2 separate regions of the Homo sapiens genome follow, and region 2 is linked to region 1. Evidence: promoter capture Hi-C in 16 types of primary human blood cells and fetal thymus (Javierre and others, 2016). All regions are on one chromosome and are shown on one strand. The core of a region is centred on a gene start or on the middle of the fragment in contact, and the rest is flanking DNA. Distances in the headings are between cores, read along the strand shown. Region 1 holds the start of ZNF567 (zinc finger protein 567). Region 2 holds the start of ZNF283 (zinc finger protein 283).

Region 1 (5,951 bases), core at 2,057-4,556:
GAAATTGACTAACATGACTAACACAGGAGACACTCATGGCTTGCTCAGTGTTACACATTGCAGAGGTGGCCTAGCCAAGATTTTTTAAATGACAGCATTGAGATATAATTTACACACCATAAAATTCATCCATCTAAAGTATACGATTCAATGGTTGTTGGTATATTCACAAACCATCATAATGAACAATCATCCACAACCTAATTTTAGAACATTTCAATCACCATGAAAGAAACTCCAAAAGAATGCATGCCAAATTTAAGATCATTAAGATGTATGCCTATGTGTTTTTTCCTAAGAGTTTTATAGTTTCTTTTGTTTTGTTTTGAAACAAAGTCTCACTCTGTTGCCCAGGCTGGAGTGCAGTGGTGTGATCACGGCTCACTGCAGCCTCGACCTCCCTGGGCTCAGGTGATCCTCCCACCTCAGTCTCCTGAGTAGCTAGCCACAGGGGCGTGCCACTACGCCTGGCTAATTTTTGTATTTTTGTAGAGACAGGGTTTCACTAAGTTGCCCAGGCTGGTCTTGAACTCCTGGACTCAAGCAGTGCACACACCTCAGCCTCCCAAAGTGCTGGGATTACAGGTATGAGCCACCAAGCCCCACCAAAAGTCCTATTTTAAAATGTGCTCTTTAATAACATATCATGTAATTAGTAAAGTCACTTCCTTTGTATCTCTTATTTTTGATGACCACTGTAAATAAGTCTTTTTCCCCATACTTTCCACATACACACACACCCCCTATTTATTTGTTAATGTTTTTTCCAACAACCCTGAGTTTTCTAATTGTTATCACTGTTCAATTTTTAATAGGATGAAAACTTAGAAATATTTCTGCCTCAGCCTCAGCTGATATCCCAAAGATAGCAAATGAAACAAAATTCTAAGAGAACTTCATTCAAGAACAGGATCTTATAGAGCTGTTGAGTGTAAAATTTTGCTATCATTAAACTCCTCCTTTAAAGACAGTGGAGAGGCTGAGAGAGGAGCATGTATTTTTAAGAGACTGTTATTTTTAGAACAGTGTTTTTCCAGGGGGAAAAACGTGAGTGATTCTCCCTTTTTTACAACACACAAGGGGTCCCTCAGACCCTGAGGCCACCAGGAACCAAAGTGGTGAGAGAATTCTTGGCAAAAATTTTACATATTTCTAAGATTTGGGAGGGCAAAGTGACTGAGGTGGCTAATTCTCACCTTAGCACTAGGTGAAGACCCCATGGGTGGAGGCTGTCTGGGTTGTCTTGGGTCCTATCAAAGAGGAATGACTGGACAAACCCACCCACCAGAGTCGGTGGGCCACTGAATGCCCAGAGGAAGCACTGGGGCAGCAGCTGGAGAAGAGGCTATGCCCATGAGAAGGGAAGTGTATCTGGAGGTTCCAAGCAGCAGGTTCTCTTGGAAGGTAAGAGATGACTTACACTAAATTATAGTGGTATCAGTCATGTTAGCCTCTTCTTGTCTCTGACTTCTGTCTTCTCATTCCTTTCCCAGCTCCCAATCCATGAGAGCTAAAGACTGCCTATAGGGAGTAAAGAGGAGACAAAATAAAGGTTGGGGAATTAGAGAAGAAACTAATCATGTATCCTTTCACATTTCAGGCTTCCAGCAGAAGAAATTCATCCAGCAAAAAAAAAAATAAATACACACACACACACACACACACACACACACACACACACTCTCAAATAGGAATTTTGAGAGTGGCAGTTATGAGATAAAGTTTTTTTCTGTGTGGTCCCAGTGGTATTCTATTCATTTAAGCATATCAGTCATCAGTCAATACCAGGTTTCCCAATAAATGATCTTTTTTGGAAGGGAAGGGACGGAGTCTCGTTCTGTCGCCCAGGCTGGAGTGCAGTGGCGCGATCTTGGCTCACTGCAACTTCCACCTCCGAGTTCAAGCGATTCCCCTGCCTCAGCTCCCGAGTAGCTGGGGCTACAGGCATGCGCCATCATGCCCAGCTAATTTTTATATTTTTTAGTAGAGACGGGGTTTCACCATGCTGGTCAAACTCCTGACCTCAGGTGATCTGTCCGCCCCAGCCTCCCAAAGTGCTGGGATTGCAGGCGTGAGCCACCGCGCATGGGCCCAATCTTTTTTTTTTTTTTGAGACGGAGTCTTGCTCTGCCACCCAGGCTGGATTGCAGTGGCACGATCTCGGCTCACTGCAAGCTCCGCCTCCCGGGTTCACGCCATTCTCCTGACTCAGCCTCCCAAGTAGCTGGGACTACAGGCGCCCGCCACCACGCCCGGTTAATTTTTTGTATTTTTAGTAGAGACGGGGTTTCACCATGTTAACCAGGATGTTCTCGATCTCCTGACGTCGTGATCGGCCCGCCTCAGCCTTCCAAAGTGCTGGGATTACAGGCGTGAGCCACCGCGCCCGGCCCGCATGGGCCCAATCTTACCCTCTGAAAATTATTTTGCCTCTTCCTCTCCATTAAAAAAAAAAAATCACTACTTATTTTACTTGTCTAATTACCAGAGTCAAATTCTACAGGCATATATAAAATGCCCAATACTCATAAATCAATCTAAACAATGCATACTTTAGTCAACACTCGGTTTCTCAAGCACTCCACCTAAGTCACACAGTGTGCCACATTCACAGTCATCATAGGTCGTGTACACCAAATACTTTTAAAATTAGGCATATTCATAGCTGTATCACCCACTACATAGTCATAATCCCATAGGCCCCCACGTCGTGCACAATTTCACAGAACTTCTACAAAAAGTAACAACCTTTCACTCACAATGCCCTCACTGTCGCCTCTCCAGAGTCGGACACAGGCTCAAACACAAATCGACTCGCATCTAATTTAAATTAAAACTTAAGACACGCAGGGACCCTATCACTTTCATAAACAACCGGTTCCACAACGTCACACAGAATAACACATTCCCCTACCACAACACACAGGACAGGTACGAAAAGCCACACACACACACACGGAGCGCCTGTTGTGTGCCAGGCCGTGCTCCAGGAGCCAGGGGACGAAAATCAGACGAAATTCCTGCCACTGGGGAGCTCACCCCCCGCCTCGGGCAACCGGTTCCCTTCTTCAGGTGCTCCCGGGCCCGCGCTCTGGTTCCTGCTTCCCTCCCAGCCTTCTCTGAGGCCCGGACTCGCACTTTCCTCCAGCCAACTCCTCGTCCCAGGTTGCTCCTCTTCCCTTCTTGCTTTCCCCAGCCCAGGCTCCCGCCTCCCTCCTCAGCCTTCCTTACGGGTCACACCGTCACCCGCCTTCTCCGCGCCCGCGGGACCCACCAGCCTCACCTTCGGTTGCCGGCCGGGCGTCTGCGCATGCGCACTCCCACGCGGACGATGCCTCCCAGGTGTCTCCGCGGCGCGTTCCTGCTGTCCACCGGCTACGCGCGCCTTCTCCACATCCGGGCGTTTCCGGCCTTGGACTACATTTCCCACAGGCGCCCGGGCGGTTTTCGAACTTTGATCTCTGGTTCCCCTTCCAAATTCTCATAGTGCGTGGCTGGGATGAGGGCGGCGCTCACGGTGAGGAAGCCCCGAGCTCCCGGGACGCAGACAGGGTGTGCAGGGCCGTAGCTCGGGCCTGTGTATGCACCTGTGCGTGTGTGTTTGATGCCAGGACAAGGCGGCGGTGTGCGCGGCGAGGAGGCTGCGACAGGTGCGTGATTGTGTTCCTGTCCCTGCTCGGATGCGGGACCTTTGGGTGGCCGTGGTCGGCTGTCGGGTGTGTGACACTGTAGGGTTTGAGACCTTCCATCATGACAGTGCTGCTGTGGCCGTGTGATGGAAGAGCCTTTTAGGTCTGTGGTGTTGTGTGTGTAACGGGTAAAGCTTCATTTCTGCAGTGCTGTGTTTAATGTTGGGACTGAGGGGTCTGTCGAAGATCTCCCCAATGTGCCTGTGAGGACTATGATCCATGCCTATGTTAAGCAGAGTCATCTTGCAATGAAGCATGGCCCGCGTTGTCTTCTCAGGGCACACCTGTCCCCAGTTCTCAGCCTGGTGTTTGACACAGGGGATCCTGGCGGAGTGCCCACCTAAGCGGCAGTTTTAGACTCGATTGTTTCTTGGGCTCTGCATCTCTGAGTTCCCAGCTTCCTTTTTTCTCCCGCTTTATAGCTGTATAGACCCCAGCTGCAGTGAAATGGCCATCAAAAAGGGAAGGGATAATCGAGTGGTGGAATAAAATCTGCAAACAGAAAAAGGACAGACCTGTTTTCGGAACGAGGCTTTTCGAGTTGTAAGTGTCCCTTAAGCAGAGTTCTGGGAAGACGTCGTGGGGAGAACCTAGGAGTAGGATTCCTTCCTCAGAGGCTCTCCCTTGGGAACTCTCAGAGGTCAGGTTCCATGTGATCCACATCATTCCCAGAGCTGTCTCCGCAGGAGACTTAACGTGAATTTTGAGAAAGTCCCCAGTCCTGGATATCAGTGACCCTGGCCTTTCCCTTGAATACTAAGAAGGGTTAGCAGTACTCCCATCTCCCTTTTACTTCCATCTGAGTATGTTTATGGTAGATGATGAGAGCTCGTGTGGTGGCAATAATTTTTTCCAATTTAGCCAATCTGGGTTCCAAGAAAGGTCTGATGTCTCATGATTCCTTACCCCTTCTCCCTTGCCTTGAGGTTCTCTAAGAGCCCTGAGGAAAGGGAACCATTGCTGAGCATATCTGAAAACCAAGGTCAAGGAAGTTTTGTTGTATTTTCTATTTTTGTTCTCTTTGATTTTGTTTTTCAGCAAGGGAGTATTTTTTCTCCTCCTGAAATGCTAGTCAGTGGTTAGGTTACTATTAGGCAGGGCCTTGTGAGGTGCTTTGACCAATAGAATGTGGTGGAAGTGATATTGTGAGACTTCTGAGACAAAGCTTCAGGAAGTCTTGCAGCTTTTTCTCTTCCCCTTTTCCTGCCCTGAGACCACCATGACTGAAGGCTAAGAGCAACTTGCTTGCGCATTAAAGATCACTTGGAGAGAGAGGTCCAGTGAGCAACAACGGCCAGAAATTTCAGGGAGACCATCTTGAACCATCCAGCCTCCACCAGGCCAACAGCTGACAGCTGTCACATGAATATGATCAGCAGAAGAACCACTCAGGCAAGCCAAGCCCAAATTGCCAAGCCCCCCAAATAATAAGCTAATTGTTTTTTGTTTTAAGCCATAAACTTTTGAGGTGGTTATATAGCAATAAATAACTGAAACAGGTGTTTAACTTTCTAGACTTTTTAAATGACCATATTGATATAATTGTATTGTTCAACCTGTTTTGTAAAGTGATTTCTCTGATACAGTATCTTGAAAATATTCCTTAACTATTTTCTACAACTTTGCATTTGTCTATCTTAGTATTATATTACATGGATATGTGGTAACTTATTTAACTACTAACTTCCCTTTGCAATTCCTTTTCCTTGCTGTCTAGCTCCCATGTCTTGACCAACTTTGCATTCCCCTCCAGGACCTTATGGGCACATGGGTTCCTATCATTTCACGGGTATGTAGACTCAGGAATGTGGCATTGACTTCTGGGTGGAGTACAGATGACTGACACCCCCACCCCGATTCGGAGGAATTATTCAGGGGTGTGATATAACACCTACATACATTTATTTAACTAGCCAATTTGGTCTCCCCTTTTTTTGTTTTGAGACCGAGTCTTGCTCTGTCGCCCAGGCTGGAGTGCAGTGGCGTGATCTCGACTTACTGCAACCTCCGCCTCCCAGGTTCAAGGGATTCTCCTGCCTCAGCCTTCCGAGTAGCTGAGACTACAGGTGCCCACCACCATGTCCGGATAATTTTTGTATTTTTAGTAGACATGGGGTTTCGCCAAGTTGGCCAGGCTGGTCTCAAACTCCTGACCTCACGTGATCTGCCTGCCTCAGTCTCCCAAAGTGTTGGGATTACAGGCATGAGCCACCTCGGCCAGCCGGGTCTCCCTTTTTACATCTGTTTTCCCCTTTCCAGTTC
Region 2 (5,951 bases), core at 2,556-5,055, 7.1 Mb before region 1:
CTTATCAGATGGGATTGACACATAACACAATATTCTTGAGCACTTTTGTTCATAACTATAATGATTGCTTAAAATTATATCATTTATATTTTTCCTTCCTTTGACTCTTTATAAACTTAATTTTTATTAGGTGCATATCATTCCATCACTAGACATACTGCAATTTACTTGACTATTTCCATTCTATTGGACACTAATTTTTTTTTTTTTTTTTTTTTTTTTTTAGATGGAGTCTTGCTCTGTCACTCAGGCTGGAGTGCAGTGGTGCAATCTTGGCTCACTGCAACCTCTGTCTCCCAGGTTCAACCAATTCTCCTGCCTCAGCCTATTGAATAGCTGGGTCTACAGGTGCACGCCACCACGCCCGGCTAATTTTTGTAATTTTAGTACAGATGGGATTTCACCATATTGGTCAGGTTGGTCTCGAACTCCTGACCTCAAGTGATCCACCCGCCTCGGCCTCCCAAAGCGTTGGGATTACAGGCATAAGCCACTGAGCCCAGCTGGACACTAATATTTTTCAAGCTCTTTCCCGGCAATTACAGTCTTTTTTCCAGAACAATGGAGCTAGATCTTTTTGGGTCATGGTCACTTTTGATAATCTCATGAAATTATAGACACTTTGCCCACTTAAAAAAACACATTTACACATATTTACAAAAATTTAGTCTCAATTTCAAGGGATTTTGGTCACCTGGAAGCTCGTCAATGGAACAAGAAGACCTCAGGTTAAGACTTCCTGTCGTAAGGCTGGGCACAGTGGCTCACGCCTGTAATCCTAGCACTTGAGGAGCCCGAGGCAGGCAGATCACTTGAGTCCAGGAGTTAGAGACCAGGCTGGGCAACATAGCAAAACCCCCTCTCTATAAAAAATACAACAAAAACTGGTCAGGCTTTGTGGCACGTACCTGTAGTCCCAGGTACTCGGGAGCCTGAGGTGGGAGGATCGCTTGAGCCTAGGAGGCCAAGGCTACAGTGAGCCATGATCATGCCACTGCACTCCAGCCTAGGCAAAAGGCCAAGAACCTGTTTAAACAAACAAACAAAAAAAGTGTTCCTGTCCTAGATCATTTGAGCATGTGGTCACTTTTTCGTGTCTGTGTGTGAGACAGTCTTGCTCTGTTACCCAGGCTGGAGTGCAGTGGCGCGATCTCGGCACACTACAACCTCCGCCTGCTGGGTTCAAGCAATTCTCCTGCCTCAGCCTCCCGAGTAGCTGGGACTACAGCCACCCGCCACCATGCCCGGCTAATTTTTTGTATTTTTAGTAGAGACGGGGTTTCACCATGCTGGCCAGGCTGGTCTCGAACTTCTGACCTTGTGATCCACCCGCCTCGGACTCCCAAAGTGCTGGGATTACAGGTGTGAGCCACCGTGCCCAGCCCCCACTTTTTTAGTTAATTTGCAAGCACCCGTCACAATCAACTTCATACTTCTGTTACTCTAATCTATAAAAAGTTTATGGGAAATAATCTAGAAGAGCCCAATAATAGCAACTCAATATTCAGTAAGCCCATATCATGGGGATGACACTGCTCTACGAAGCTTTACATATAATATCTCATCTTACATCATATCAACTCCATTAGGTAGGTACTATCCTGTCCCTATTTTATAGATGTGGCACAGAGGGCCTGAATCAATTGTCTAAGCACACACAGCTACCAACAGGCAGAGCCAGGATTTGAATTCAGATACTTTGGATCCAGAGCCTTAATTTTTTTGTTGTTGCTGTTTTTTCGAGATGGAGTCTCTCTCTGTCACCCAGGCTGGAGTGCAGTGGTGCAATCTTGGCTCACTGCAACCTCCACCGCCCGGGTTCACGCCATTCTCCTGCCTCAGCCTCCCGAGTAGCTGGGACTACAGGCGCCTACCACTACGCCCAGCTAATTTTTTGTATTTTTAGTGGAGACGGGGTTTCACCGTGTTAGCCAGGATGTTCTCGATCTCCTGACTTCATGATCCACCTCCCTCAGCCTCCCAAAGTGCTGGGATTACAGGCGTGAGCCACTGTGCCCGACCCCAGGGCCTTATTTTTAACTACAACATAGTACGGCTTCTTACATGCCACAGAAAGCTGGACTTCAAACAAGTCATGCTTGGAAATGTTACAGATTTCTATCTAAAGATTATCTGAAAGTCCCCACTCTTGTTGGTGCAAATTACAAATCCCTATGTTCAAAGCTCAATCATATTTCCACCCCTAAAAGCCTCACAAAGCAGACAACATTGTCATTTACTGCCAGAAACATTCCCTTACTTAAAATCCCTTATACCTTGCCTTTCTTTAAGCATCATGACTATGGGCCAGGCATGGTGGCTCACACCTGCAGTCCCAGCACTTTGGGACGCCAAGGCCAGAGGAACACCTGAGCCCAGGACTTCAAGGTTGCACTGAGCTATGACTATACTACTGCACTCAGCCTGGGCAACAGAGTGAGACCTTGTCTCTAAAAAAAGTTAAAAAAAAATTTTAATTATGACTACAGAAAAGATAAAAAATAATGTTTATATAACACCACCTAATTACTAATCTCTTCAAATAATCATAGTATAAAATAATGCTCTAATAGCAATCTACAAGAGGTGCCTTTCTATAACTCTTCAGTGCATCATAATGCACTGAAGTATTTGAACAATTTGCCATATGAACAGGTGGGTAAGAATTGTGGAGAAGAACAATAGGGGGCCACTGGGAGGAAATATGTACCAGCATGGCGGGTCATGTAACTGGGAAAACCCAGTCAAGATATTTCAGGCCAAGGAAAGAAAATGTTCTCATGACCTAGAAGCAAAGGTAATTGTATGTGTATGTATTTAAAAAGTATGTATAAAAAACCTCACCTGAACCTTGATTTCTAAACATGCAAAAATCCTTTTCTCCTCTTCAAACTCCTTCTTAGAAATCTGGCAACCTGGCAGCACTGGGGGAAAAAACAGTAACATGAGACATCAGCATTTCTAGCGCGTCACAGACTTAATTAAAAAAGAAAAAGAAGAGCAAAACACCCTCTGGGGCCACTTCTGCCTTCATCCACACAAAACCAAACGGAATGAAAAGGGAGGCTAGAGTCTGTCTCTGTGTTGAGGGCAATTCTTGGGGACAGAGGTCTGCTTGCAATGGCTCTGAAACATGTAGCTCACCACCAAAGAGCTCCTAGAGGCCCCTCTTCTAGGAATCCCACCTCTAGAACTTCCCCATCAGGTCTTGACAAGATCCTGTCCCGCGGACACTTCCAGATCTAAAATTCTCATCCTTCTTGCTTGAAACGTTCATTATGGGGCTTAGCATAGACTTCTTTCTTGCGGTCATTTAATTGTGGCAGGCCCGAAGACAGGCTAAAGGGAACCTAGAGCATTTGGTCAAAGCAAATCACATTTACAAATACGGCCACGCACCCTGTCAGCCCGTCACACATTCACAACTGCACCCACCTCCGTGGGGACACGCCCCGTCCCTGCCACGCCGTCTGAGACACACTGTCCCTCGGCTGCTCGCGTGCACACAGGCTTGAGGATCCGGACACGACACGCTCTGTCCGTGACCCAGCCCTCCCCACCTCCAGCACCCCCGATGCCACCCCCACCCTCACTGCCGGTTCCAGTCGGGCCCCAGTAAAGCCAGCCGAGCCCTCCCAGCTTCACCCGGGCTGATTACTTCTACAGACACGACCAACTCACCATGCAGAGTCCAAGAACCTTAAGGACACCGGAAAAGGACCCAGAGACCTGTGGTTAGTTTGGACCCAGAGGCTGATGGGAAACAAGAGCCTGGAAATGCTCGCAGGCTGGGAGAGGAGCTTCTGGCAGGCAAGCTCGCCCCGCCCCTAAAAGGCCTGTGCCCCGGAGACTTCTGGGAAATGTAGTCCACAGCGGCAGAGTCTCCGGAAGTTGAAACCTGGACAGCAGGGATGCTCCCAGCATGCAACTTGGCTTCACCTGTCAAAGGCGCTTTTTTCGAAGACGCCCGGGAGCTCTTGCTTTTGCTTGAGGGTCTTTGGTGTTGACTGAGAGCGAATTAAAAGGTTCTCAGCTTTCGCTAAGGAACGCATTCTGGAGTCTAGAACAGGCGAAGATGGGACTGGGGTGTCTGGGGACTTAGACGTGAGCGAGCAAGGGAATCCGGGGTAAGTTCGCTGGAAATGACCTGCGCGACACTACCAGTTTACCTGGGTATGAGCGCCTGGAACAGTGTCTGGCAATTGAACAGATGGGTGTGTCTTGCTGTGAGGGAGTTTCTTAGTTCGATTCGGTGTCTGGGACCCTGCGTGGACCTGTTTATGTTCATGGGATGTTTTCTAAATTTATGCCTGTGTGAGTCTGTTTTATTAGGTGTGAGATGAACTGTGTTACAGATTTTATATGCCGCTGTTGAAAGACAACAATAAGTGGTAGTGAGTGGATATTGTGACCGTGGAGACTTATGGCAGTGCAAAGGCGGCCATAAACAATGCACAAGCAATCCAGCATGGCTGTGTTCCAATAAAACTTGATGGATTATAAAATTTGAATCTCATTTTTTATAGAGTATGAAACCATTTATTCTGAAGCACACACTCATACTCCAAAAACAATACTATATATTCCCTCTCTCTCTCTCCTGTGTGTTTGCGTGTGTGTGTGTGTGGGTGTGTGAGAGAGAGAAAGGTTTTAAAGGAGACAACTAACTGATTCTGAGGTTAGGGCAAAAAGATTGGGGCTGTGGTTGGTGTGGTAAGAACCTTTGGATATAAATACTTTTTTAAAAAAGAATTGTCTAAAAATATTAAAGCGAAATTTTATATTAAAACTAACAGAAAGAAAAGGAAGTTACTTTTTAGGGGCTCTTTCTGGTCACTGATATCACCTCTCTCATCCTCTGCCATCTCTCACCTCCTGGTCTCTCTTGCTTATCAAGAGAAGACTAGAGCTCTTGGATCCCAGCTTTTCCCCTGCCTCAGCTGAGGCCACTACCCTGGTTGACTCCCATGGTGACATGGATGCCTCATCCAGTATCGTGGGTCTGAGTCCTCATCTGCAGGGTCCTTGAGCTTTCCTCGGCACCCATCCCCGTTTCCCATCTGGGACTTCATTATCATCAGCATCTGCTCCACCTCCAAAACCACTGGTGGAAGCAGCCTCCTCTCTTCCCATGTTACTTGCTCAATGACTCCCACAAGTACTACTCTGAATATTTTGGGGGTCTGATTTTTTTTTAATTTTTTATTTCCATAGGTTTTTGGGAAACAGGTGGTGTTTGGTTACATGAGTAACTTCTTCAGTGGTGATTTGTGAGATTTTGGTGCACCCATCACCTGAACAGTGTACATGGCACCCAATTTTTAGTCTTTTATCCCTCACCCCCTTTCCACCCTTTCCCCCAAGTCCCCAAAGTCCACTGTGTCATTCTTAGGCCTTTGCATCCTCACACCTTAGCTCCCACTTATGAGTGAGAATATACGATGTTTGATTTTCCATTCCTGAGTTGCTTCACTTAGAATAATAGTCTCCAGGCCGGGCATGGTGGTTCACACCTGTAATCCCAGCACTTTGGGAGGCTGAGGCAGCTGGATCACCTGAAGTCAAGAATTCAAGACCAGCCTGGCCAACATGATGAAACCCTGTCTCTACTAAAAATACGAAAATTAGCCGGGCACGCTGGTGGGTGTCTATAATCCTAGCCATTCAGGAGGCTGAGGCAGGAGAATTGCCTGAACCTGGGAGGTGGAGGTTGCAGTAAGCCAAGATAGCGCCATTGCACTACAGCCTGGGCAACAAGAGGGAAACTCCATCTTAAAAAAAAAAGGAAAAATAAATAAATCCAGGCAAATGCATTAATTCATTCCTTTTTATGGCTGAGTAGTATTCAACTGTATATATCTACCACAGTTTCTTTATCCACTCATTGATTCATGGACATTTGGGTTGTTAAGCATTTTTGCAATTGTGAATTCTGCTGCTGTAAATATGTG

Evidence for each region. The method cuts DNA at HindIII sites, captures the fragments that hold promoters and counts their contacts. A CHiCAGO score of 5 or more calls a contact.
Region 2: the fragment with the promoter of ZNF283 here is called in contact with the fragment with the promoter of ZNF567 in region 1 in 5 of 17 cell types (non-activated CD4 T cells, activated CD4 T cells, total B cells and 2 more); the score reaches 10.3 in non-activated CD4 T cells.

Annotation. Positions count from the first base shown.
Region 1 is chr19:36,684,967-36,690,917 of GRCh38, reverse strand. It overlaps ZNF567 (zinc finger protein 567), which reads right to left and starts at 3,306. Exons shown (of 6, transcript NM_001322917.1): 1 at 3,284-3,306; 2 at 1,421-1,521. It overlaps ZNF567-DT (ZNF567 divergent transcript), which reads left to right and starts at 3,469. Exons shown (of 4, transcript NR_110708.1): 1 at 3,469-3,650; 2 at 4,112-4,232; 3 at 4,903-5,081; 4 at 5,407-5,479. RefSeq lists enhancers at 2,250-2,889, 3,450-3,499 and a silencer at 3,190-3,249. The HindIII fragment of the contact is 4,431 bases long and covers 1-3,825 here.
Region 2 is chr19:43,825,175-43,831,125 of GRCh38, reverse strand. It overlaps ZNF283 (zinc finger protein 283), which reads right to left and starts at 3,805. Exons shown (of 7, transcript NM_181845.2): 1 at 3,682-3,805; 2 at 2,845-2,924. RefSeq lists an enhancer at 3,748-3,947. The HindIII fragment of the contact is 6,325 bases long and covers 1,548-5,951 here.